Regions from separate parts of the Homo sapiens genome. Here all the other regions are linked to region 2. Evidence: promoter capture Hi-C in 16 types of primary human blood cells and fetal thymus (Javierre and others, 2016). All regions are on one chromosome and are shown on one strand. The core of a region is centred on a gene start or on the middle of the fragment in contact, and the rest is flanking DNA. Distances in the headings are between cores, read along the strand shown.

Region 1 (2,700 bases), core at 1-2,500, 450 kb after region 2:
AGCGTGCCTGCTCAGTGGCTGTCTTGCCTCCACCTGCCAGTTTGGTTAGGGCGAGACAACCTTGTTTACTGGGGCAGGAGAGTTGGGAAACATAGACCCCCTCATTCTTAGACCCTGATGCCATTGCCTTGGCCTCCCTTGGTGGGGCCTTCCCTGGGGGCGGGAGAAGGGAAACACGGCCTGGTCTGTGCGGTTGAGGGCTGGGCAGCTAAGGGCATGTGGCTCCTTGGGCTGGTATTATGAAGTCATGGGGGCTCGGTGCCTCCCCTAAAGGGGTGAGGGTGCCCTTCCCCTCCCACCACAGGCATTCGTGGCTGTCCTTGGTAGTCATCTTGGGTAGGGAGTGAGCTCTCAGGATCATCAACCTAAGGATGGGTGGAGGCCTGTGGCTGAGGGTGCCCGTTTCTCCCAGGTTTGCTTGTACCCAGGTAGCATGTACCCAGTGGCCCGGGGGGCAGCCTCTGCTTTTGGGGTATGGCTGCTGAGGGTTAGCCACATTGGTGCCTCCCTTCCCTGGTGGTCCCTGGAGATAACTCAGATCTCTAAACAGCTGCCTCCACAGCCCTGCATGCTCTCCCAGCTTCAAGAGAAGTTGGCGAGCCTGCTGTATAACATGGTGACTAAGAGCATGGCTTCAGAGTCAGGCAGACCTGGGCTCAGATCCCAGCATCACTTCACTGCCCACTGAATGAACCCGGGCAAGCCATTTCACCTCCCTGAGCCTCTGCTTCCTCATCTGTGAAATGGGAATAATTGGCTTGGTTCATTGAGTTGGATAAACTGGTGTTCAGGAGGGGCTTGGTTAAAGTCTGGCACATGCTCACAAACGTTGGCCATTGCTTCCCCAGGGTCGGCCAAGTAGATATGGACATCAAGCTGACCGGACAGTTCATTCGGGAGCAACACTGTCTGTTCCGGAGCATCCCCCAGCCAGATGGAGAAGGTAATGGCTGAGGGGGTGAGAGAGGCCAGACAGGGAGAGAGGCCCCATGTTCCACCCCACACACTGAACTCAGAGGTCTGGGTTGGGCACCAGGGAGTGCAGCCATATAAAGAGGGGATGTGGCCTTGTCCTCAGAGGGGCTTGGGGCTCATGGGTATGAATGGAGGAATACCACAGGCCCAGCCCTCTGCACCCACCCTGAGAAGACAGACTACTGTGTGGTCAGGCACTGGCGAGGGTTCTAAGGTAGAAATGGGACACTAGTGAGCCAGAGTGTGGGATTTTGCTGAAGAGAAGATCCTGCCCTTCTTGATCTTGTTCACCACAACTAGCACTCTGATCCTTTTTAAACAAAAACCTGTATTTGAATATCGGAACTTGTCCCTGTGGAAAACCTGCCTCTATCCAGCTATGACTGCCGAGATTTCTTTTTCTTTTTCTTTTTCTTTTTCTTTTTTTTTTGAGACGGAGTGTTCGCTCTTGTCGCCCAGGCTGGAGTGCAATGGCGCGATCTGGGCTCACTGCAGCCTCAACCTCCCGGGTTCAAGCAATTCTCCTGCCTCAGCCTCCCGAGTAGCCGGGATTACAAGCATGTGCCACCATGCCTGGCTAATTTTGTGTTTTTAGTAGAGACGGGGTTTCTCCCATGTTGGTCAGGCTGGTCTCGAACTCCTGACCTCAGGTGATCCGCCTGCCTCGGCCTTCCGAAGTGCTGGGATTACAGGCGTGAGCCACTGCCCCCAGCTTTTTTTTTTTTTTTTTTTTTTTTTTATCATTTGAGACGGAGTCTCACTGTTTCCCCCAGGCTGGAGTGCAGTGGCATGATCTTGGCTCACTGCAGCCCCCACCTCCCAGGTTCAAGTGATTCTCTTGCCTCAACCCCGAGTAGCTGGGATTACAGGCACGCGCCACCACACCAGGCTAATTTTTGTATTTTTAGTAGAGACGGGGTTTCACCATGTTGGTCAGACTGGTCTTGAACTCCTGATCTCATGTGATCCGCCCACCTTGGCCTCCCAAAGCACTGGGATTACAGGCGTGAGCCACTGCACCTGCTGAGGTGTATTTTTGAGGCCACCAGTTTGTTTTAGTTCTAACACTTAAAAAAAAATAGAATGATTTGGGTTCACATAAGCTCAAGCAAAGTCTCTGTGAAAATGAGTTGGGCAGGGAGGAAGGACGTGGTACACATGTGCTGTCTGTCAGCTTGGACCTGGTGTGTGTGTTGTGCCTCAGAGACCTAGGAGTGCTTGGCCTAACACCTTCCAGGGGACAAGGGACCTGGGGTGTGTATGGTCAGCACTTTTTTTTTTTTTTTGAGATGGAGTCTCGCTGTGTCGTCCAGGCTGGAGTGCAGTGGTGCGATCTCGACTCACTGCAACCTCTGCCTCCCGGGTTCAAGTAATTCTCCTGCCTCAGCCTCCCGAGTAGCTGGGACTACAGGTGTGCGCCACCACACCCGGCTAATTTTGTATTTTTAGTAGAAACAGGGTTTCTCCAACTCCCAACCTCAGGTGATCCTCCTGCCTTGACCTCCCAAGGTGCTGGGATTACAGGCTTGAGCCACCACACCCAGCCCTAATTTTTGTATTTTTAGTAGAGACAGGGTTTCACCATGTTGGTCAGGCTAGTCTTGAACTCCTGACCTTGTGATCCACCTGCCTCGGCCTCCCAAAGTGCCAGGATTACAGGCGTGAGCCACCGCACCCGGCCAGCACATTTTAAAAAATAACAAAAGACGCTATCATGTGCGTCTT
Region 2 (2,700 bases), core at 110-2,609:
TGCTGCCCAAACCCTAAGTCCTGCTCACTTAGCAGTCTTGAGGTCAGTGCTACTGACTCCCTAAGTTCCAGGTCACTGATCAGGCTGTGGGTTGGGGTTGCAGTCTGGGGTCAGGGGTCACTGACCTAGCCCCGTGGCATGAGGATGCACCACTGCCAGGCACAATGCAGCTCCAACTCCAGCATCCACGACGTTGCCCCCGGCAACAAGCAGCTCTCGGCCTAGGTGGGAGCATGTGGCTGCAGCAAGGAAGGCACTGTCATGCAGCAAGGAGGGGGGCTAGGCTGGGCTGGTGACCCCTGACCCTCCCCTCCCCAAGCCGCCCCCAGCACTGACTGACCTGCAGGGCTGATGATGGCACCGTGGTGGTATACGCCAGGGCCGTGGGAGTGTCCGCCGGGTGGAGGGGCCACAGAGCCCAAGCTTCCTGTCGACCTGCCCTGATTCTGGAGCTGCCTCACAGCCAGGGAGCAGCCAACAGCCAGCAGCAGCAGGGCTGCCACTACACGGGCCCAGGTTCCGGGCAGCCCGCCAGCCTTGTTCCTGCAGAGGGGGGGTGTCCTGAGCCACGGCTGGGACAGAGGGATGCCCAAGGACCCCAAGAGACCCCAGGGAATATTTCCCAAAAGGTTTGATTTAGCAAGAGGAGCACAAGTCAGCCAAGGAGAAAGGGCTTCTTGGCAGCGGGTGCATCTTGGGCAGACATGGGGATGGGAAAGCATCTGGGGAAACTGAGCCTAGCTAGGGAGGGAGCCTCTGGAGGGGAGATTGGTGGGGCAGAGTCCACTCAGGTGGGAGGGAGGCCCAGTGGGGTGTGGCAGGCAGGAGAGAAGGGGCTGGGGAGCAGGCCCAGCCAGGCGTAGTCAGGCCCCAACCTGCCCAGCAGGTGCCTCCTGCACCAGGACTTGGGGGCTGGGGACCTTTGACAAAGCAGCAGATGGGACAGAGGCTGGCTTGGTACAAATGTCCCTCCAGATGCACAGACTTTTGATTGGGTCAGGCCAAGTCTCGGGCTACAGCCTGGGTTTTCCCCCAAATTGACCGTACAGTGCCTGGAGCTAAACCCAGCGGGGAGTCGCCTGGTCCCCCTGAGGGGCTCCAGAGAGAGGGACTTGCCAACCTCAAGCCTGGGGAGCCTGGTGCCCAGACCCCTCCCTTACTTACCTGGAAGAGTCCTGGTGCCTCCGGGGGTTTAGAACCAGCGCCTCTGATGTCTCCTCCTCCTCCACTTCCTCCTCCGACTCCAAGCTTGGCTCCCAGGGCAGCAGCTTCTGATAGACCACGGGCTCTTCTGCCCGCTCCATGGCCCCCCAGTGCTCGCCCCAGCCCTCCTGCCTGCCAGCCTTTCCGGCTGTGTCTCAGAGGCCCTGCCCAAGCCTGGCAGGTGGGAGGTGGCAGCGACCTTGGGGAAGGGTGGGGGTGGAATCCAGAACAGGTCTGGGCAGGGCACGGGGCCAAGGAGGCTGCATGTGAGCCTGCCCCATTAGGACACAAGGCCCGAGGAGCTCTCGCGACAGGGTTCCCGGGGTGACTGCCTGTAAGGGGCCACAGCTCAGTGAGGTCGAGAAGGAGTTCAGCCTTAATGCCACAACCTTGATACTCAGGGCACCTGCTGGGCTCCTCCCCTTGGGGGATGTAGCCCATGGATCCCACCCACCTGGGACTCTAGGGACTGTGGACTTGAATTAGAGCTACGGTTTCACGGTGGCTTGGGTCAGAGCTCCCACGTGCTTGAGTCTGCACGTGACTAGGTTCTGGCGTAGGGGTGTCTGGTCTCTGGCCGGGGTCAAGGCTCAGCCTGTGGCTACTCTGGGTCTGGGTTTCTTTGAGGAGCAACTTGGTTCGTAACTCCCTGTGCGTGTTTTGCGACTCTTGTCCAGAAGGTAGCGCCACAGCCTGGAAACCAACATTTCTAAATTCATTCTGGGATTCCCATCAAGGACTTGTTGCAAAACAGTGCTGTTTGTAACAGTCCCAAATTGGAAAGTGCCCAAACATCCATTATCGTTAGAATGAATGATGTAAGTCACAATGGACCACTCTGCAGCAAAGAGAGTGAGTGATCTACAATTATATGCAATAATATACACAGGTCTGACAAGCATAAGGACGAGGGAAAGCAGCCAGGCAGGAGACAGCGCACGCTATATGCTTTCATTTACACAAAGTACACAAACAGGCAACAACAAAAGAGCAACAACAGTCTGCCCTTAGAAGTCAGATAGTGACTGGAGGAGGTACCAGGGGGTTTCTGGAATGCTGGAGATGTCCTTTCTTTCCTTCCTTTCTTTCCTTTCCTTTTTCCTTTACCTTTCTTTTCTTTCTCTTCTTTCTTTCTTGACAGAGTTTTCATTCTTGTTGCCCAGGCTGGAGTGCAATGGTGCAATCTCAGCTCACTGCAACTTCCACCTCCTGGGTTCAAGCAATTCTTCTGCCTCAGCCTCCCGAGTAGCTGGGATTACAGGCACATGCCACCACGCCTGGCTAATTTTTTGTATTTTTAGTAGAGACAGGGTTTCACCATGTTGGCCAGCCTGGTCTTGAACTCTTGACCTCAGGTGATCCGCCCGCCTCAGCCTCCCAAAAGTACTAGGATTACGGGTGTGAGCCACCGCGCCCGGCCGAGATGTTGTTTCTTAATCTGAGTGTTGGTGACACGAGTGCCCTGGGTGTGAAAATGCATTGAGTTGGGCATTGATG
Region 3 (2,700 bases), core at 141-2,640, 360 kb before region 2:
CCACACAGTGAGTCAGGGCCCAAGGCTGCACCTACCCCGCCCCCCACCTCCCCCCAAAAACACACACTTTGAGTCAGAGCCCAAGGCTGCATCTACTACACACACACACACACACACACACACACACACACACACACACACACACTGCGAGTTTATTGCCGTTGGAGGAAAAAAATGAAAGAATCAACAGCAGGGAAAGGGATGCAATTATTTTAGGAAATAAGGTAATTATCACATGATACTGAGATTTCATGAAGCTACATCTTATTTACGTACTTATCTATCACATAAATACATTCTCCTGTCTGACAACCAAACTTTACAAAAAATCTTTTTTTTGAGAGGTTTTTCAAAGGTATAAAATACTGAGAATGTTCTAATGACAAGCGGGTCCCAACTGTGGTCAGTGATTCAGGTGACTTAACTATCCTTCACAGCCCCTCACACCACTGTCCCAAGACAAGTAGCCTTTTCTCAGATCCTACCACAAGGAATCCTCAACTATTTCTGGAAAGGGGCAAAATGAACACAATAAATATTGTTAAATATGCAAAGGGCCGTGCTATGGACAAAGGTAGCAAGCTGTGCAGATAAAGTGGGAGTGTTTACGAGAAGGTAAAATTGGGTTTAATATAGAGAATTTTCTAACAATTAGAATTTTCTAACAATTAGACCTCAATAGTTCTTCAAACTATCCAAGCAACTCTAAGAAATGCTACAAGGTTTCCTTGGAGGCACTGGACTAGATGACCACTCTGGTTCCTTCAAACATGAGATACAAATTGCTTAAAAGCTCGAAAACTGGCTCACGCCCGTAATCCCAGCACTTTGGGAGACCGAGGTGGGCAGATTGCTTGAGCTCAGGAGTTCGAGGCCAGCCTGGACAACATGGCAAAACCCTGTCTCCACCAAAATACAAAAATCAGCCAAGTGGGGTGGCGTGTGCCTGTAGTCTCACCTACTCAGGAGGCTGAGGTGAGAGGATCACCTGTGCTCAGGAGGTAGAGGCTGCAGTGAGCCAAGATCATACCACTGCGCTCCAGCCTGGGTGACAGAGTGAGATGCTGACACAATTAAAAACAAACAAACAACACACAAAAAAAACCTCGAAGACTTCAGTTACCCAGGATAGAAATGTTTTCCCCAAATGCCTCTGGTTTTAGTAGTGACACTACTACTACACATCGATGTCTGTGACTTTAATGAAAATAAGACTGAATAATGCCAAACTAAAGAACATGAACTCCCCGTATGCCAATTACATGCTACTGTAAGATATCTTCTGAGAACAGTGCTAAGGGCACAGTGTCTGCTCCCCAGCTTACCTCCCCTTGCTGTCCTGCATGTTGGGGTTGGCACCAGCCTGCAGAAGGGCCTCTGCAATCTGCGCCATCTCAGACATCACATCTGCTGAGTGTTTCTTTGAACTGTACAAGGCCACAAGGTGCAGTGGTGTCTCCTGGGCACCCAGTGTAGCAGCGTTGACAAAGGCCCCATTCTTAATGAGGAAAGTGGCAGCAAAGAGATCTCCTTGAAAAGAAATAATAGAAGAAACAGTGTCAGGGCAAAGTATTCTGGCCAGTGCTTCTTCAAGAGGGAGCAGAAAATGACTGCAGACAAAGGAGAGCGATAACTAGATGTGTCTGAAGGAACCTCTTGGGGCATCTGTAAGTGGAAACTCATTGAGATCATGGAGTTACAGACGAATTCAAAAGGCTCTGCTCAATTTTTGGTTACCTGTTACCACTTGTCCTGCCTCCTCACCTCAGTATCCTTTCACTGTTTAAGAATACTAGGCTGGGCCAGGCGCAGTGGCTCATGCCTGTCGTCCCAACACTTTGGGAGGCCGAGGTGGGCGGATCACCTGGGGTCGGGAGTTGGAGACCAGCCTGACCAACAGGGAAAAACCCCGTCTCTACTACAAATACAAAACTAGCCGGGCGTGGTGGTGCACGCCTGTAATCCCAGCTACTTGGGAGGCTGAGGCACGAGATTCGCTTGAACCCAGGGGGTGGAGGTTGCGGTGAGCTGAGACCACATCATTGCACTCCAGCCTGGGGATTAAGAGCAAAACTCCGTCTTAAAAAAAAAAAAAAGAACACTAGGCTTCTACTCTTCAAAGGCCTCCTTCGGTCATCTCTCAGAAGGGTTTCCAGGATCCCTCCCTACACAATTTCTCTCTCTCTTTCTCTTTCTTTCTTATTTCCTGACCACAGCTTGTACCTAACTAAGCAACACCTACCCCCATTCTGCTGTACTTGCATTCACGTTCCTACTCAGAGTAATCCCATGTCTGTTTTATTATTATAAAATTTATTTTCTTTTTAGATTTTTTTTTTTTTCAGACAGAGCCTTGCTCTGTCACCCAGGCTGGAGTGCCGTGGTGCAATCTCAGCTCACTGCAACTTCCGCCTCCGAAATTCAAGCAATTCTCATGTCTCAGCCTCCCAAGCAGCTGGGACTATAGGCATGTGCCACCACACCTGGCTAATTTTTTGTATTTTAGTAGGGACGGGGTTTCACCATGATGTACAGGCTGGTCTCAAACTCCTGAGCTCAGGAAAACCACCTGCCTCGGCCTCCCAAAATGCTGGGATTACAGATGTGAGCCACCGTGCCCGGCCTCTTTTTAGTTTTGTAATCTCATTATATACACATAACTGACTTAATAAGAAGTTTACAATGAAATATTTGAACAGA
Region 4 (2,700 bases), core at 75-2,574, 370 kb after region 2:
GCCACTCACCAGGCTGAGCAACACAGGAGGAGAAGCCATTTGGAGAGAGATGGTGAGTTCAGCTTTGAACATATTGTTTTGGTGTCTGTGGGACATCCAAGTAGAGATGTCCAGAAGGCAGCTGGACATATGTGCTTGTGTCTCAGGAGAAGGGTCTGGACTAGAGACATAGATTTGAGAGTCATTAGGTTGTAGGTGGTGGTTGAAGGCAAGGGAATGGATGAGGATAATCTCAGGTGGTTGCATAGCGTAAGAAAAGAAGAGAATGCCGGGCGCGGTGGCTCATGCCTCTAATCCCAGCACTTCGGGAAGCCAATGTGGGTGGATCACTTGAGATGAGGAGTTCGAGACCAGGCTGACCAACATGGTGAAACCCCGTCTCTACTAAAAATATAAAAATTAGCTGGGAATGAAGACAGCCTAAGCACAAACTCTGGGGGCAGTTTAATTGTTCAAGAAGGGGAATCTATGAAGGAGACTGAGAAGGCCCAACCAAACAGGTAAGAAGAAAACCAAGAAAATTACAGGGTCATGTGTCACAGAGGCCAAAAGGAGAATCCCAAGGGGCGAGTGGCCATGGGTATGCAGGCTGCCGAAATAAAGTAAGATCACAGTGGAGAAGTTTCCCATGGATGTAGAGGAGGGAGAGCATTAAAGACCTTGGTAAGAACCGAGTCAATGGAGTAGCAGGGGAAAGAAATCAGCATAGACTGGGGTGAGAAGGCAGAGAGAAAGGTGGGAGAGAATTAAAAGTAGGCAACTCTCAGAATGCAGCTGTGAAGAGGAAGAGAAGCGGGCATCTGGAGAGGTTTTTTTGTTTTTAAGATGGAGTTTTGCTCTTGTCACCCAGGCTGGAGTACAATGGCACGATCTCGGCTCACCGCAACCTCTTTCCACCTCCCGGTTTCAAGCGATTCTCCTGCCTCAGCCTCCCGAGTAGCTGGGATTACAGGCATGCGCCACCACGCCTGGCTAATGTATTTTTAGTAGAGACAGGGTTTCCCCGTGTTGGTCAGGCTGGTCTCGAACTCCTGACTTCAGGTGATCCGCCCGCCTCAGCCTCCCAAAGTTCTGGGATTACAGGCATGAGCCACGCGCCCGGCCCTGGAGAGGTTTTTAAAAGATGGCAGAAGGCTGTTTGGAGGAGTCCACCCCCATCTCCCCTGTGTAAAAGGAAAGCGGAAGAGAGAACCACAAAGAGGGCCTGGGGGAAAGCCGTGGAGTGAGGCGATAAGGGCTTGTGTCCAGGGGATTCCCGGTCACTGGAATCCCTATCAGGCCTGCATTTCCTCCTCACCCCCATCCCCTTCCTTGCCACTGGCTTAGTCCTCCATGGGGCTAGAAGAGAGAAGGACGGAGTCGAGTGGCACCCTAGAAGACGCTCTGTGCCTTCGGAGGTCTTTCTGCCTGCCTGTAAGCCGGGGTTGGTGCTGGGGCAGGAGAGGGGTCTGAGGGAGGGGAAAGAGCCAAGGACCTGGAGCTAGTAGTTTTAAGTTCTGCAGGCAAGGGTGGGAGATGGGAGTAGGGAGGACAGGAGGTGTGGATGCTGTTTCTGGAAGCGAAGCTGCAGGGGGAAGGGGGCTGGGGCCTGGGGGGATGCTTCCAGGGGATGCAGGGGGATCCACTCAAGGCTCCCTTGCCCACAGGTCCTCATGCCTCTCCTCCTCTTGCTGCTCCTGCTGCCAAGCCCCTTACACCCCCACCCCATCTGTGAGGTCTCCAAAGTGGCCAGCCACCTAGAAGTGAACTGTGACAAGAGGAATCTGACAGCGCTGCCTCCAGACCTGCCGAAAGACACAACCATCCTCCACCTGAGTGAGAACCTCCTGTACACCTTCTCCCTGGCAACCCTGATGCCTTACACTCGCCTCACTCAGCTGAACCTAGATAGGTGCGAGCTCACCAAGCTCCAGGTCGATGGGACGCTGCCAGTGCTGGGGACCCTGGATCTATCCCACAATCAGCTGCAAAGCCTGCCCTTGCTAGGGCAGACACTGCCTGCTCTCACCGTCCTGGACGTCTCCTTCAACCGGCTGACCTCGCTGCCTCTTGGTGCCCTGCGTGGTCTTGGCGAACTCCAAGAGCTCTACCTGAAAGGCAATGAGCTGAAGACCCTGCCCCCAGGGCTCCTGACGCCCACACCCAAGCTGGAGAAGCTCAGTCTGGCTAACAACAACTTGACTGAGCTCCCCGCTGGGCTCCTGAATGGGCTGGAGAATCTCGACACCCTTCTCCTCCAAGAGAACTCGCTGTATACAATACCAAAGGGCTTTTTTGGGTCCCACCTCCTGCCTTTTGCTTTTCTCCACGGGAACCCCTGGTTATGCAACTGTGAGATCCTCTATTTTCGTCGCTGGCTGCAGGACAATGCTGAAAATGTCTACGTATGGAAGCAAGGTGTGGACGTCAAGGCCATGACCTCTAACGTGGCCAGTGTGCAGTGTGACAATTCAGACAAGTTTCCCGTCTACAAATACCCAGGAAAGGGGTGCCCCACCCTTGGTGATGAAGGTGACACAGACCTATATGATTACTACCCAGAAGAGGACACTGAGGGCGATAAGGTGCGTGCCACAAGGACTGTGGTCAAGTTCCCCACCAAAGCCCATACAACCCCCTGGGGTCTATTCTACTCATGGTCCACTGCTTCTCTAGACAGCCAAATGCCCTCCTCCTTGCATCCAACACAAGAATCCACTA
Region 5 (2,700 bases), core at 74-2,573, 470 kb after region 2:
TTAGAGGTACAACAGGCCATTGCCAACACCAAGGCCAGAGTTAGGAAGGCCACAGAGTGGAGCTGCCCTGCCACTGGGGCCACGTGGTGCCACAGAGGGGCCAGCAGGGCTGTGCCCACTACACTCAGCACCTGTACCACCTGGATGGGGACCTGCTCGCCCTTGCCCGGGGCCAGCTGCCTCCACAGGGTCACCACCAGCAGACCCAGGTTTCCCAGCGCCACAACCACAGAGAGGTATGAGGGGAGGCTCCAACCTGCAGGGAAGGAATGATGCCATGTCAGGAGCACAGTGGCTAAGGGACAAAGAGCTGCCACAGGCCACCTTTCTGGGCATACCTGCCCCACGCTTCCCTGTACCTCCCTCCCACTCACCCTCTGGAAGGTCTTTTACCACCACAGGCAGCTCCACCCAGATCCCGTTCACAGCAGCCCAGGAGCCCATGCCAAAAAGGGCCACCAGCAGGTGGGTCAGCACCAGACGGCCCAGCGTGGGTGCTGCCATTCAGCCCAAAGCTGGACCCTCCAGGACAGGGCAAAGGTCACAGGCAGGTCCTTCCCTAGGTAGGTCCAAAGATGCTTTGGTTCTTCTGGAAACTGAAGACCTTCTAGCTGGAGGGAAACAGACAGGCTGGCAGGTAATAGGCTGGTGGGACAGAACCGGAGTCAGAAGACAAGTCGGTCAGACTGCTAAGACCAGGGCAACTGGAGGGAGAGGTGGCCGGGGGCGGGCGGGGAAGGTGGGGAGCCAGGACTTACCACGGGGCACCGGCTGTGCGTTTGGGTACAGCGACCCAGCAGTGCCGGCAGGCAGACAGGCAGAAAGCTGGCCCGAGGTGCAGCTGCCCCAGAGGAGCAAAGAGGGAGCTGATTTTCCTACCCACAGAGGACCCGGGGTCCAAGTTGTCAAAACAGCTCAGCACTGGCCGGGTGCGGTGGCTCACACCTGTAATCCCAGCACTTTGGGAAGCTGAGGAAGGCAGATCGCCTGAGGTCAGGAGATTGAGACCATCCTGGCCAACATGGTGAAAACCCGTCTCTACTAAAAATACAAAAATTAGCTGGTCGTGGTGGTGGGTGCCAGTAATCCCAGCTACTCAGGAGGCTGAGGCAGGAGATTCACTTGAACCCGGAAGGTGGAGGTTGCAGTGAGCCAAGATCACACCACTGCATTCCAGCCTGGGCGACAGAACGAGATTCGGTCTCAAAAACAAAACAAAACAAAACAAAACAAAAAAACAGCTCGGCACCAACACGCTCACCCTCAAATGGACCCCGGGACAAGGGCACGTCTCTGGTGCCACTTGCAACCCTAGCGCTTTTGCGACACTCAGGACTTGCTGAGGCAGGTCGAGTTGGAGAGGGGAGTGGCTGGGGCGGGCTCTGCCCGGAGGGGCGTCTCCGTGCTGCCCTCCCGCCTGCCTCAGGGGGGCATCCCGGGAGCCGCCAGGTGCGCAGGGGTCCCCGCACCTCCGGATCCGGCAGTCCCCGGACCCAGCGGCTGGCGGTCTGCCTGAGAGGGAGCCCCCTCCGCCGGGGAGGCGGCCCAGCCCAGAGCCCACACAGCTGGGGTTTTGTTGTTTGTTGTTTTAATTAATTAATTAATTTTGAGACGGGGTCTCACTCTGTCACCCAGGCTAGAGCGCAGCGGTGCGCGATCGCGGCTCACTACAGCCTCAACCTCCCAAGCTCAAGGGATCCTCCCACTCAGCCTCTCCCCACCCCCCCACAAGTAGCTGGGACCACAGGCGAGCATCACCATGTCCAGCTAATTTTTTTTTTTTTTTTTTTTTTTTTTGGTAGAGACAAGGTCTCACTATGTTGCTCAGGCTGGCTTGGCACTCCTGGGCTCAAGCAATCTTCCTACCTCAGCCTCCCAAGTAGCTGGGACTACAGACGCACCACACCTAGCTACCGCCACGCTCAGCTGTTTTTACACTTTTTTTTTTTTTTTTTTTTTTTGAGACGGAGTTTTGCTCTTGTTGCCCAGGCTGGAGTGCAATGGCACGAGCCTCTGCCTCCCGGGTTCAAGCCATTCTCCTGCCTCAGCCTCCCGAGTAGCTGGAATTACAGGCGCCCACCACCATGCCCTGCTAATTTTTGTCTTTTTAGTGCACAGGGTCTCGCCATGTTAGCTAGGCTGGTCTTGAACTCCTGACCTCAGGTGATCCACCTGCCCCGGCCTCCCAAAGTGTTGGGGATTACAGGCGTGAGCCACCGTGCCTGGCCAGCTGTTTTTACACTTTTAAATGGTTGAAAAAAAATTAGCTGGACGTGGTGTGCACACCTGGCTAATTTTTGCTTTTTTTTTTTTTTTTTTTTTTTTTTGAGACGGAGTCTCGCTCTGTCGCCCAGGCTGGAGTGCAGTGGCGCGATCTCGGCTCACTGCAAGCTCCACCTTCCAGGTTCACGCCATTCTCCTGCCTCAGACTCCCGAGTAGCTGGGATTACAGACGCCTGCCACCACGCCTGGATAATTTTTGTATTTTTCGTAGAGATGGGGTTTCACCATATTGGCCAGGCTCGTCTCGAACTCCTGACCTCAGGTGATCCGCCCGCCTCAGCCTCCCAAAGTGCTGGGATTACAGGCGTGAGCCACCATGTCTGGCCCTTTAATGATATTTTGTACTTGTTTACTCACTGACCATCTCAGGGATTACCCTGACCTACTACCCATTTTTGTATGGCCTGCTAGCTAAGA
Region 6 (2,700 bases), core at 141-2,640, 410 kb after region 2:
GTGACTCATTTAAGCTTCCCAGTCTGTCAATGCCGGGTGATCCCCCACTTAGACAGTCATCGGAGCATTAGAGAATTCCAGTTCCCCATTCCCATCATGCTTCCTCCTTTCTCAGAGATTTCAAATAGACTCTTCTGCCTGTAACGCTTTGCTTCTCTCTCTCATTTACGGAATTACCTGTTCTGATCTCGGCTCACTGCAGATTGGGGGAGAACCTCAGGTGGCCGCTCTCACAGTTATTTTTCTCTCAGAGCACTTATCAAGTTGGTTATTAAACTTACGTGTGATCACTGCATCAATGAGCGCCCCAGCCCCGGACTGTGGCCTCCCTGAGGGGTACCCCTGGTCCCTAACGGTTGTTCAAGAAACAAGGGGACGAAGCGTAGGCAACCAGCGGCCCTTGAATACTTGGAAGGCGTCCTGCCTGCTCTGGTCCCCCTGGGGCACGTGGGGAGCTGGGACAGGGCTCGTCCGTGGTCAAGGTCCGCAGGTTTGGGAGTTGGGGTCCTGCGTTCCGCCAGTATCATCCCAAGCTGCAACACGAGCAGCCCCGGGGAGGCTCCCACCGCCCTGCAGGGCCGCGCCCTACGCCGGCCGCCGAACTCCAGCCCACCCGCAGGGAAGCTACTCCGAGAACGCAGGCGGAGACAGTGGCCAATCGGACCCGGCGGGTATTCTCATCCCTCCAATCAACACTACGATCCGCCCGGGCAGCTCGGGAATTTAAGGCTACGGATGGGAAAAAGGTTGTCGGAGGGAGGCAGAAGGGACTGGGTTAAATTAAGCAGGAGGGGCAAGAACACACAGAGGACCCTGCAACCAATGGGAATTCGCAGGCTGGGGTGGTTTCGAAGGAAGGTCGAACAGGCCTGAGGAGGCAGAGCTTTAAGTTGAGATAGCCAATAGAGATGAAGGCACAGTAGATGGCGTGTCCTAAATCCAATCGAAATAGAGCTAGAGGTGAGCGGGGCAGGAATGCGGCAGGTTGGAGGCACCCTACCAATCAGACCAGGTCAGCAGCGGACAGGCGGGACGGCCGGCTAATGGGAAACAAGGACTGCGGAAGGCCAGGGTCGGGAGAAGAGGCAGGAGGCTGGCGCTATCTTTCAGGTAGCCAATCACTGTCCGCTAAGAACAGCGGGCGTGTCAGCAGCCCTTTTAGGGACTCTGAGGGTCTCGGAAGGGGCCTGTGAGGGGTCTTTCAAGGTTGAGGAGGCGGCATCGTCCAAAGAGGGAGAAGTATGGTCCCGAGAACCGGGCGAAGGAAGGCGGTTGTGAATTTGGGATCCTCACCTCGGGCCTTGCGCCGAGTCTCCTGGTCACCGAGGCTGGGTGGCTTCTCCATGGAGCTCAGGATGGAGCCCAGTAGGTCCGCCATCTTGGGAGTGACTGAGAGGGGGCGGTGCGTCTTAAAGGGAAGGGCGGAATGCCTTTAAGGCCGGAAACACGTCGGAGGCGGAAAACCCTGGGCCCGCCTGGCCTGGGCGCAGATCCCAGGCCCGCGGTGCATGGCGGCCTCCAGCTGGCCTAGGCCCCGCCCCGCCCCCGCAGACAGAGGCCGGAGGCTGGCTGGTGCAGCGATGTTTAATGGCAATTCGTATAAACCAAGCCCATGCACAAGTAGAAAGTGCCCGTGGAGCCGGCAGGAGGCCCCCGCCGCGCTAGAGAACCACAAGCCCGGCCGTGCAGCCCTCCCCGCGGCGCCTTAAATAGATTCTTCACTATACTCTGTATGTTACAGTATGTACAAGACCCCTCCCCTCGGGGGACGGGGCGGACTCCGCAACGCGTTCCTATGTACACCACCTCCCCTTCGGCCCTGAGGTCAGTGGCCAGAGTCGGGTGATGGGGTAAGACAGGGCCAGAGAGGGAGGAAACAGACGCAAACATGCGGAGTCGGGTGGGGACACGGTCAGCCCTGAAACACGAGGGGCGTGCGCAGCGAAGGCAGTGGTGGGAACCGAGGCGGATACATTCAGAGACGCGTCGAACAAATAAATAAGGCAAGTCAGGAGGGGGCCGAGTCGGGTGCAGGCAGGAGGAGCTGGGGAGCAGGGGCAGGCAGGGCTCCGGAGGTCACAGCGGAAGATGCAGGTATGTGGGGCGCGGGTTTTCTGGAGCCAGGACCAAAAGAGACGGGGCACGACCAGGAGGGACGAGGAGAGGGGTGTGGGAGCAAGGCGTGGGGAGGAGGGAGGAGGCCTACAGAGGGCTCCAACAAAGGTGAACAGGAAAGCTGCCGACAGGGGCTCCCCCTGCCCCAGAAAGCCCTCTCCCTGTTAAGACTGCACGAGGCGCCCCCAGGGTGGTGAGAAAGGCGGTGGCCAGGTCATGTGGCCAGTCCCGGCTGGGGAAGCCCTTCCAGCTCCTGGTTCTGCTTCAGTTCCCTCATCCTGCAGAGAGAAAGATAGGAGTCAGAGGAGACTGGCGGATCACGACGGGTGGCAACGCAAAAGCCCAGGGGGAGAAGGGATGAGTACCTGTGTCGGCAGCGCCGCAGGAATCTCATGATCTTCCGGGCTGCCTGGTCCTGCTTCTTGGTGAGAAAGGAGCCTCTGGTGAAAGAAACAAAAGATGGACCTCACAGAAGGCATCGCATGCCTTCGGCCCCCCCAGGAACCCTAGGCAGGGAATGGCAGTGAGGCATGATGATCAAGAGGATGAGTAAGGGGGAATGGCGTGGATGCAGTGGGTGGGCAC
Region 7 (2,706 bases), core at 57-2,556, 400 kb before region 2:
ACAGCTGAATCCTCCGTGTCTGAAGCCTAGTGCCATCAAGGACTGGACCTGTGGGGCACAGGACAGCTTGCAGCTACACTCTATGCCAAGGGCTTCCCAGAGAAGGCCGACCCAGGTGGCCAAGGGCCAGGGCCCAATTGCCCACCCCCAGCCAAGTGCCCCAGAGAAGAAGGTGAAGACCCTGACCTGCGCTGGGTTGTAGTGGGGAAGGAAGAGGACAGTCGCACCCAGACACTGCTTCTGAGAAGCTCACAGGCCAGCAGGGGAAGCCCTTTCACAGCTGTTGCCACCAGTGCAGGAACGTGGTGCTGCCTCCTAAGAAGGGGCAGGGCAGGGGCTGGGGAGCACAGTGAAAGGAACCATGGACTGTGCCCTTGGCCTGGGGAAGGTGGTGGTGGCCCTGCAGGGGAAGCTGGAGGATGTTAGGAGAGAGCATGAAGGCTCAGGGGCTGAGCGCTGTAGCCTGCTGCCTTGGGAAACACTCTGGTAGGCTTCTACTTTTCAGAAGGCCTGGCTCTCTGCTTCCTGCTCTCCCCTTCCCAGAGACTCATGAGTTCTCACATTTAAGAAGTCCTCTTTCCGTCTATCCTTAGTGGAGGTGTGAGCAGAGACTGGATTGGCGTCCCCAGGAAGCTGTATAAGCCAGGTGCTAAGGAGCCCCGCTGCGTGTGTGTGAGAACCACCGGCCCCCCTAGTGGCCAGATGCCGGACAACCCTCCACACAGAAATCGTGGGGACCTGGACCACCCAAACTTGGCAGAGTACACAGGCTGCCCACCGCTAGCCATCACATGCTCCTTTCCACTCTAAGCCGTAGCCTCTTCTGTTAATAACACACAGAGAGCTCTGCCAAGCACCTGAGTAGGCCCTTGACACTTGTGTGCCCTGGGATGCCTCCTGGCGCGAATCAGGAGGGTCTGGAAGGACTCTGGCTATATTCTGCAAATGTGGCTCATGCCCCTTACCGTGGCTCGGCGTTGTGGTGCCTGAGGGACAGCCGGCCACCTGCCCAGTACTGGTCAGCTTTTCAACACTATTCCCTTTGACCTACTGGCCATCTTCCTCACAGCCCTCAGATATCAACGGGCACAAATAAGACCAACTCAATTTCCACTTGAATTTACAACCAAAAGCCTGCTGAGTTGATTACAGCTGGGCCAATACAGTACGAGGCAATAACAAATTAGTGTGGGTTGATTCTGGAATTGGAAAAGCTTTTGCTTGTATGGATACAGCAAATCCAGATGTCTCTGAACAAAGCAACAATTTAAAGCAACGACATTTTCTGTCCTTTAAGCACTTAAAATCAGGTGTGGTGTGTTTTCAAAGGCAGAAGTCTGCATTTTGAGCAAAAGGTGGCTTCCCAGCTCTAACAAGGTAACTGGTTAGCATGACATTAAAGCTTGGGCAAGGCTTCAAACTTAAGGTGGCTGGGCTTGCTGCTTGTCCAGTGGTTTGTATGTCCAGCGTCATCTGGCAATGTCATACCTGTTACCTCTTGACTACTTGTGAAGGTAGATGGGGGCAAGGAGTGTTCCTACTTCAGACAGAGAAGTGGGACCAGCACTACCACAGACAGCGCCACGGCCTCTGTGCATCGCCTCATCAGAGCTTCCACCCAGCTCCCTTTGCCGCTCAGTCTCACCCTCAACATCCACCAGCTTCCTCCCTCTCTGTCACTGTCTCCTTTTTCTCCATCATTCATTTCACTAAATCGCTTTCCAGATTCACAGACTAGAAAATGGAGGCTGCCTCCCCTTCACTGGCAGACCCGTACTCACTGCCCCTGTCCCCTTCACTGGCAGACCCGTGCTCACTGCCCCTGTCCCCTCACTGGCAGACCCGTGCTCACTGCCCCTGTCCCCTCACTGGCAGACCCGGGCTTATTGCCCCTATGGCCACAGCTGTTCCTTACACTTGGGCTCTGGCTCATGGCTCCTTTTGCCTGCCCCCGCCATCCTCCTCACCTGCCCCTCTTGTACCTTTAACCTCTCCCCGTCTCCTGGATCTTCCCCCAGGTATGCATCAAACAGCTCACTTCTCTCACATCATAAACATTCCCTCAACTCCAGTTTTGGCTTATACTCACTAGCTTTGCTTTTCAGCTCCATTTGCTCTAAAAATCAGGAGAAATTCTGCATTGGCACATTCCGTGGTCACATCCAGTTCTTACCTAGGCTTTGTCACTCTGGATACTGTGGACCGTGGGGTCCTCCATGAAACCCTCGCTGGGCTTTATCCTGCTTCCCTTTTTGCCTCTGCCCATTCCTTCTTAATTGCCTTGAGAACCCCGTTTTGCCTCCACAAACCCCTTCCCATTGGCTCCTCTCACTCCAAATCCGACAGTTACTTAGACCGTCAAACCTGCACGTCTACTCCAGGCAGCTTTGCAGAGCATTTCACCTTCCCCTCCCATGCTGCTTCTAGTTCTCCAAGGGAATGGCACCACCAGCTACACGCAGAGTCAGCATCCGAGCAGCCGTCCACACTCCATCCTCCCTTCCCTCCTCCTAACCCGCCTGCAGGTCCTGGGACCTCTGCCTCCCTCATTCTCTCCCTTTCCTTCCCTCTTATCTGTCCCTAGTACTCTTCCTCTGGCCTAGGCTGTCATTTCTCACTTGGATTACTGAAGGATCCTAACTGTACTCCCTCCCTCCAATCCCTCCTCCACACTGCTGGGAGCCGTCTTTCTTTCTTTCTTTCTTT

What was found. Contacts are between HindIII fragments. The CHiCAGO score rates a contact against its expected background, and 5 or more counts as called.
Region 1: a contact is called between a fragment that was not itself captured here and the fragment with the promoter of GGT6 in region 2, in 1 of 17 cell types (neutrophils). The highest score is 8.6, in neutrophils.
Region 3: a fragment that was not itself captured here is called in contact with the fragment with the promoter of GGT6 in region 2 in 3 of 17 cell types (M0 macrophages, naive CD8 T cells and M1 macrophages); the score reaches 6.5 in M0 macrophages.
Region 4: the fragment with the promoter of GP1BA here is called in contact with the fragment with the promoter of GGT6 in region 2 in 2 of 17 cell types (neutrophils and erythroblasts); the score reaches 8.9 in neutrophils.
Region 5: a contact is called between the fragment with the promoter of SLC52A1 here and the fragment with the promoter of GGT6 in region 2, in 6 of 17 cell types (neutrophils, monocytes, non-activated CD4 T cells and 3 more). The highest score is 12.7, in neutrophils.
Region 6: a contact is called between the fragment with the promoter of SPAG7 here and the fragment with the promoter of GGT6 in region 2, in 1 of 17 cell types (neutrophils). The highest score is 5.6, in neutrophils.
Region 7: a contact is called between a fragment that was not itself captured here and the fragment with the promoter of GGT6 in region 2, in 1 of 17 cell types (M1 macrophages). The highest score is 5.6, in M1 macrophages.

The regions. Positions count from the first base shown.
Region 1 is chr17:5,013,895-5,016,594 of GRCh38, forward strand. KIF1C (kinesin family member 1C) reads left to right here. Exons shown (of 23, transcript NM_006612.6): 18 at 849-943. Among named protein-coding and RNA genes, the nearest start is that of KIF1C-AS1, 4.8 kb to the right of the region's middle. The HindIII fragment of the contact is 9,804 bases long and covers 1-2,700 here.
Region 2 is chr17:4,559,218-4,561,917 of GRCh38, forward strand. GGT6 (gamma-glutamyltransferase 6) reads right to left here and starts at 1,360. Exons shown (of 4, transcript NM_001288702.2): 1 at 1,165-1,360; 2 at 341-543; 3 at 126-239. The coding sequence starts at 1,304. The HindIII fragment of the contact is 2,996 bases long and covers 1,247-2,700 here.
Region 3 is chr17:4,196,048-4,198,747 of GRCh38, forward strand. ANKFY1 (ankyrin repeat and FYVE domain containing 1) reads right to left here. Exons shown (of 25, transcript NM_001330063.2): 8 at 1,326-1,530. Among named protein-coding and RNA genes, the nearest start is that of CYB5D2, 54 kb to the left of the region's middle. The HindIII fragment of the contact is 8,607 bases long and covers 1-2,700 here.
Region 4 is chr17:4,930,953-4,933,652 of GRCh38, forward strand. It overlaps GP1BA (glycoprotein Ib platelet subunit alpha), which reads left to right and starts at 1,325. Exons shown (of 2, transcript NM_000173.7): 1 at 1,325-1,413; 2 at 1,647-2,700. The coding sequence starts at 1,653. The HindIII fragment of the contact is 9,310 bases long and covers 1-2,700 here.
Region 5 is chr17:5,034,103-5,036,802 of GRCh38, forward strand. SLC52A1 (solute carrier family 52 member 1) reads right to left here and starts at 1,324. Exons shown (of 5, transcript NM_017986.4): 1 at 759-1,324; 2 at 375-611; 3 at 1-256. The coding sequence starts at 504. The region is part of intron 3 of LOC105371501 (a long non-coding RNA gene); the gene reads left to right. The HindIII fragment of the contact is 18,376 bases long and covers 1-2,700 here.
Region 6 is chr17:4,966,427-4,969,126 of GRCh38, forward strand. It overlaps SPAG7 (sperm associated antigen 7), which reads right to left and starts at 1,391. Exons shown (of 7, transcript NM_004890.3): 1 at 1,294-1,391. The coding sequence starts at 1,378. CAMTA2 (calmodulin binding transcription activator 2) reads right to left here. Exons shown (of 23, transcript NM_015099.4): 22 at 2,481-2,555; 23 at 1,571-2,393. The coding sequence ends at 2,330. It overlaps LOC124900387 (a long non-coding RNA gene), which reads right to left and starts at 1,287. Exons shown (of 2, transcript XR_007065587.1): 1 at 1-1,287. RefSeq lists enhancers at 436-1,113, 1,027-1,526, 1,114-1,790, 1,791-2,468, 2,436-2,700 and 1 more and a silencer at 1,537-1,616. The HindIII fragment of the contact is 6,795 bases long and covers 13-2,700 here.
Region 7 is chr17:4,156,273-4,158,978 of GRCh38, forward strand. CYB5D2 (cytochrome b5 domain containing 2) reads left to right here. Exons shown (of 4, transcript NM_144611.4): 4 at 594-1,425. The coding sequence ends at 810. Among named protein-coding and RNA genes, the nearest start is that of CYB5D2, 14 kb to the left of the region's middle. The HindIII fragment of the contact is 188 bases long and covers 1,213-1,400 here.